2 separate regions of the Homo sapiens genome follow, and region 2 is linked to region 1. Evidence: promoter capture Hi-C in 16 types of primary human blood cells and fetal thymus (Javierre and others, 2016). All regions are on one chromosome and are shown on one strand. Each heading gives the region's core, a stretch centred on a gene start or on the middle of the fragment in contact. The rest is flanking DNA. Distances are from core to core; before and after follow the strand shown.

Region 1 (3,179 bases), core at 200-2,699:
AGAACTTGTGTTGGCAGGGTGCAGTGGCTCACACCTGTAATCCCTGTACTTTGGGAGGCCAAGGCAGGAGGATCACTTGAGGCCAGGAGTTCCAGACCAGCCTGGGCAAAATAGTGAGACCCCTGTCTCTACAAAAAAAAAAAAAAAAAAAAATTAGCCAGGCATGGTGGTGTATGTACCTATAGTCCCAACTAATCGGGAAGCTGGCGGGAAGACTGCTTGAGCCCAGAAGGTTGAGGCTGCAGTGAGCCATGATCACTGCACTCCAGCCTGAGCAACAGAGCAAGACCGTCTCCAAAAAAAAACAAAAAACAAAAAAAAACTTGTGTTAACGTGTTAAACTCGTTTAATCTTTACAGTGATTTATGAGGTGGGTACTATTATTATCCCTATCTTGATGATAGGGACAGAGTGGCTAATTAGTATGCCTGAGATCACACAGCTACTGCAGGAGGCTCTCAGGATTTGAATCCACCTGGTCCATCTGGCTCCAGCATCTATATGCTTTTTTTTTTGTTGGTTTGTTTTTGAGACGGACTTTCGCTCTTGTTGTCCAGGCTGGAGTGCAATGGCACAATTTCGGCTCACCACAACCTCCACCTCCCAGGTTCAAGTGATTCTCCTGCCTCAGCCTCCCGAGTAGCTGGGATTACAGGCATGCGCCACCAGGCCTGGCTAATTTTGTATTTTTAGTAGAGACAGTGTTTCTCTATGTTGGTCAGGCTGGTCTCGCACTCCCGACCTCAGGTGATCTGCCTGCTTTGGCCTCCCAAAGTGCTGGGATTACAGGCGTGAGCCACCATGCCCGGCCAGCATCTATAATATATGCTAAACCTTACCCACAGCTGCCTCTGTCTTGGGGTCAGGGTTCTTGAATGGTCTGGGCCAGCCTGAGTTAGGAGTGGGAAGAGGAAGAGGAGGCACGCGCCAAAGTGTTCTTCCCGCCTGACCGAGTCCTCTGCGCCTATGAGGAAGGTGGGCACCGCTGTCACCCTGTTTCCCAGGAAGCCAGCAGGCCCAGGGAGATACTGGGATTTGCCAAAGGCTCACAGCGAGCAAGCAGCAGTGGGTGCTGGCTCCTCACCACTCAGCCTGGCACACACTGTCTCTGAGCAGACCTGGGAGAAGGCATGTGAAACCCACCTAGCCCTGGCTGGAAGAGAAGTGGGGGAGTGGAAATGAAAAGTGGGGACTGGGAGGAGCTGCCCACGTGCCCTCCATGGTTCCAGGATGGCACTTTCATGCTGGGAGTGAGCTTGCCCTGTGCCAGGCTGTCATTGAGACGTTTTCCATTCAACAACTGTTTCTCAGACAAGGCACAGGCAGGTTAGCTCTCCCAGGCCACTCAAGTAGTAAGGAAACAGATTTAAACCCAGACAATTTGGCTCCACGGCTAAGGCCCAGAGAGGGGTGGTGACAAGCCTAGGGTCACACAGCCACAGCCCCAGAGCTAGGAACTGCTGGCTAGGGCAAGCAGACAGCTGAATCCTAGCCAACTGGAGGTGGAGCAGAGGTGGAGCCAGGGAGACCCAGGTGGCCTCTCTCAGAGTGGAGCACAGGTGGCAGAGTGGCCCGGGGCAGCATGAAGTGGTGCTGGGGCCCAGTGCTGCTCATCGCGGGTGCCACAGTCCTCATGGAGGGTAAGCCGCCATGTGCTGGGGTATGGGTGTGGCCTGGTGGGGGCTCAGGGGCCATCTCTGCCCCAGCAGTCCCTGCTTCTTGGTGGGGGGACCGCCTGTGGGCGACAGTCCACCAGTGGGGATGTAACTCCGTAGGACTCTGTGGGGTGGTATATGTGGCCACCTGTGTCAACATGGATGAGATTTTCTCGGGCCAGCTGCAGTTTGCGTTGGCGGGGCCTGTGGTCTTGTGTGTGTGTGAGGTGCTGCCTGCGTGTGTCCTGTGCCTGCCTCCCCCTCGACTTCCACAATGACGTCAGGCAAACTCTGGGCTCCTCTGGCCTCAGTTTCCCTTTCTTTTCATCCATCCTCTGGGCAGCCTGGCTCAGCTGTCTCATGGGGTGCCTGTGTGCCTGTGAGGGGCGGTGGGCAGGGGCCCTCTCTCTGGCGGGCTCTCAGACAGTTTCTGGGAAGGTGGGGAAGACTGAGTCTCTAGACCAGGGTGAGGTAAGTCTCCATTTCTTGGGGCCCTCCCCACTTGGAAATGATGCAGGCCTCTAATCCTTCCTCTTAGGCCTCTGCTGCTAAGAGGACAATTAAGCTAATGCTCTCTACACACACAGGCCGCCTGGCTGACTCAGTGGCGGGGGCAGGAGTTGGGGGTTCTGAAGCCTGGAGGAGGGCTGGCCTACTCCCAAGCTGAACCCCAAGCCCCAGAGTGCTGAGCACAGCTGAAGGAGAATTAATTACTGAGTGTGCACACTGAATAGGTTCCAATAAAAGCTGTCTCGGCCTCATATAAATATTTTCATTCTGGGAGGGGCTGGTAAGGTAATCAGAGTCACAGGCAAGGACCCTGGGCCCGCCCCCCAGCCCATCCCCTCTCCTCCCCAAAGCTAGGCAGGCCTGGAGTCCCTGCATCTTACCTGTGTCTCTCTCTTCCCAGGTCTTCAAGCCGCTCAGCGTGGTAAGGTCTGGGGACACGGGGCCTAGGTCTTACTTGGGTCTGGGTTGGGACTGGGGTGAGGTCAGGACAGGTATCTGCTGTCAGTGTGACTAACTCCTTTCCACAGCCTGTGGACAGCGTGGCCCCGGCCCCCCCAAGCCTCAGGAGGGCAACACAGTCCCTGGCGAGTGGCCCTGGCAGGCCAGTGTGAGGAGGCAAGGAGCCCACATCTGCAGCGGCTCCCTGGTGGCAGACACCTGGGTCCTCACTGCTGCCCACTGCTTTGAAAAGTAAGTCATGGCTGGGGTCAGGCAGGGTCTCCGGCTCTGGGGAGTGGACAATTTGTCTCAAGCCCCACAAGGCTAGTCCCTGCCTCTAGAGTAATAATAAAGAACCATTTACTGAGAATCTGCCATGTACTGGGTACATATTGTCAAGTTAATTGTAACAACCACCTTTCATGGTAGAAGATTTACAAATCAGAAAACTCAGGTTGCAAGGGAATGACCTCGCTTAAAGTCACAGACTGAGGCCGGGCACAGTAGCTCACGCTTGTAATCCCAGCCCTTTGGGAGGCCACGGAGGGAGGATCGCTTGAGCCCAAGAGTTCAAGA
Region 2 (3,172 bases), core at 564-3,063, 300 kb before region 1:
ATGGGGTTTTGCTGTGTTGGCCAAACTGGTCTCAAACTCCTGGCCTCAGATGATCTGCCCGCCTCAGCCTCCCAAAGCGTTGGGATTATAGGCGTGAGCCATGGTGCCCAGCCCTGCCATCATTCTTTACTTGCAAAACACAAATGCACAGATAAAATTTTTAAGAATTGGCAAGACAGGGTGGCTCACACCTGTAATCCCAGCACTTTGGGAGGCCAAGGCAGGAGGATTGCTTGAGCCCAGGAGTTCAGCCAGTCTGGACAACATAGCAAGACTCCATCTCTGTAAAAAGTAAAACAAAACAAAACAAAAAACAGGCATGATGGCATGCACCTGTGGTCCCAGCTATTCAGGAGGCTGAGGTGAGAGGATCACTTGTGCCCGAGAGTTTGAGGCTGCAGTAAGCTGTGATTGCACCACTGCACTCCAGCCTGGGTAACAGAGCTGGAGTAAAAATAAAAATAAAAATAATCAGGAATTTCAAGAGGTCAAGGGCAGAACATTAAACTCCAAAGTTAATGAGTGTGGGCCCTGTGTGACCATACTGGCCCCAAGAAGTGGGCCCTGCCTGGGAGGCAGGTTCAAGGCTTCCCTCCCGAGGTAAGGTAGGGTCTTGTCTAGAGTTTTGTGGCCTTTCCTGGGATTGAGAATAATAGGTGCTGATGTCAGGGCCTCCAAGGAGCCAAGGGAAGACTTCTCACCCCTGCTGGCCTTCCTCCAGGACACCTCCCTGGGGTAACCCACGTGTACCCATCCACAGGACTTGATGTAGTGGAGGTTGGGGAAGGAGGGTGAGTGGGGCCTACCGAGATCCACCGAACTGCACCACGCTCTGCCCAAAGCCGCCTGCATCCTCCTGGAAGATCGTAGGCTCCTCCACATCCAGGTTGAATCCATGATAAGAAGCCAGGACTGAGGAATATTTGGTGGGCGGGGAGGCTGGGAGTTAAAGAAGCCCCAATCCCTAGGACCTCCCAGCCTCTTTTTCTTTTTTTTCTTTTTTTTTTTTTTTTTTTTGAGATGGAGTCTCGCTCTGTTGCTGAGGCTGGAGTGCAACGGCACGATCTCAGCTCACTGCAACTTCCGTCTCCTGGGTTCAAGCGATTCTCTTGCCTCAGCTTCCCAAGTAGCTGGGATTACAAGTGCACGCCACCATGCCCGGCTAATTTTTATATTTTTGGTAAAGATGGGGTTTCACCATGTTGGCCAGGCTGGTCACAAACTCCTGACCTCAGGGGATACGCCCATCTCGGCCTCCCAAAGTGCTGGGATTATAAGCATGAGCCACCGCACCCAGCCAAGCCTGATTTTTGATGGCACGTGAATGTGACTCTGATGCAGTTTTCAGCAGGGGGCCTCTTCCCTACGTGCAGTCAGGACTTGGGGGAAACAGGCCCAGGGAGGTGATGTCCAACCTTTCCCCCTCCCTGGTGGCTTCTGTGGCCTTCCACTCCCGGGGGAGGCTGGGGAGACCTCTGTCACCCACACCAGGGACTCCATGAGTGGGAGCAGGGAAGCCTGGGACAACATAGCCAGCTGGAGAGGTAGCTTAGTCGCCACCTGAGCACAGCCCCTGAGCCCCTCTTCATTCAGGTCACACTCTACTGACTCCGGGCCACTCGCACATGAAGCACTCCCCTGCCTCAGCTCCTCATAAGAGTGGTTGGAGCCGACCACCAGCCCCCAGCCTGCCCTCCCAGATGGAGTCCCCTCAGAACTCCTCCAAGCTTCTCCCCAGCACCCTGGCCCCACTTACCACTCAGAAGAAGCACAGTGCCGAAGGTCATCCCTGAGCAGCGCGTTGAGGGGAAGTGGAAGGTTGGGGACAGAGCACAGAAGGTGCTCACCCTCCCAGGGGGTAGTTAAAATAATGATTCAGGGCCTCCACACAGCAGGAAGAGGGGCACAGTGGGTAGGAGGGGCGTGGTTAATTATGGAACAGAAGTGGGGGCAGGGGCCAACAACACCCTGGGGAAAAACCCTCATTCTGTCCCCCTCCACAACCTGCAGGGACCTGGCTTCCTTCTCCCAGAAGACCACCCTCCCCCAGGCCTCAGGAGCCAGTTGGTACCCAGGGAGCCCCGTAGCTCTCTGAGGTCCCACAGGAGTGGAAGGACAGGAAGCAGAATGGCTGCAGAGGTCTTGGCATGTGGATGTGAGCCGGCAGAGAGGCAGGGAGAAGGGGAGCTAGGCCAGGGTGTGGTTTCAAAAAGCAGAGCCCCTCCAGAGGAGAATGGACACCCAAAATAATAAAGTCATGCCATGGGCTACTACTCAGCAAGAAATAAGATCAAACTACAGATCAGATGCCATGGCTCATGCCTGTGGTCCCAGAGCTTGGCAGGTGGATTGCTTGAGGCCAACAGTTCGAGACCAGCCTAGGCAACATAGCCAGACCCTGTCTTTACAATAAATAACAAAGAACAAACTGCAGTTCTGTACAACAATACAGGTTAACTCAATTTTATCTTAAGTGAAAGAAACCAGACACCAGAATGCCTAATGTCTGGTTCCTTTCATATACAAGAGAATGGGCAAAATTCATCTACGAAGATAGAAATCAGAAGAGTGGTTGTCTATGGTGGGGCAGAGAGGAAACTTTTTTTTTTTTTGACAAGTTTTGCTATGTCGCCCATGCTGGAATGCAGTGGCATGATCAGGGCTCACTGCAGCCTCAAATTCCCAGACTCAAGCAATTCTCCCACCTCAGCCTCCCAGTCACTGGGATTACTGATGCACACCACCATGCCCAGCTAATTTTTTTGTTTTTTGTAGAGACGAGATCGCACTATGTTGCCCATGCTGGTCTCGAGCTCCTGGACTCAAGCAATCCTCCCACCTCCTCCTCCCAAAGTACTGGGATTACAGGCGTGAGCCACCACATCCAGCCAGGAACCTTTAGCATGTGTTAAATTTAGCATTTAACACAATATTTTAATATTTATTACATGGGGTTGGGGAGAAGATAAATGAGTGGTTGTTATTTATTTTCTGTGATTTTTCTGTATGTTTGAAATATTCCATGATTAAACATAAAAGTTCCTTTAAAATGTGAAAAAGAAAAAGGTCTATATATAAAAGGCTAGGAATAGGCCAGGCGCAGTGGCTCACACCTATAATCCCAGCACTTTGAGAGGCTGAGGTGGATGGATCACCTGAGGTCAGGAGTTTG

Evidence for each region. Contacts are between HindIII fragments. The CHiCAGO score rates a contact against its expected background, and 5 or more counts as called.
Region 2: the fragment with the promoter of ITGAD here is called in contact with the fragment with the promoter of PRSS53 in region 1 in 1 of 17 cell types (neutrophils); the score reaches 6.8 in neutrophils.

The regions. Positions count from the first base shown.
Region 1 is chr16:31,087,213-31,090,391 of GRCh38, reverse strand. PRSS53 (serine protease 53) reads left to right here and starts at 1,449. Exons shown (of 11, transcript NM_001039503.3): 1 at 1,449-1,640; 2 at 2,566-2,586; 3 at 2,693-2,855. The coding sequence starts at 1,583. RefSeq lists an enhancer at 1,272-1,772. The HindIII fragment of the contact is 23,145 bases long and covers 1-3,179 here.
Region 2 is chr16:31,391,976-31,395,147 of GRCh38, reverse strand. ITGAD (integrin subunit alpha D) reads right to left here and starts at 1,813. Exons shown (of 30, transcript NM_005353.3): 1 at 1,757-1,813; 2 at 807-912. The coding sequence starts at 1,787. The HindIII fragment of the contact is 1,676 bases long and covers 1,730-3,172 here.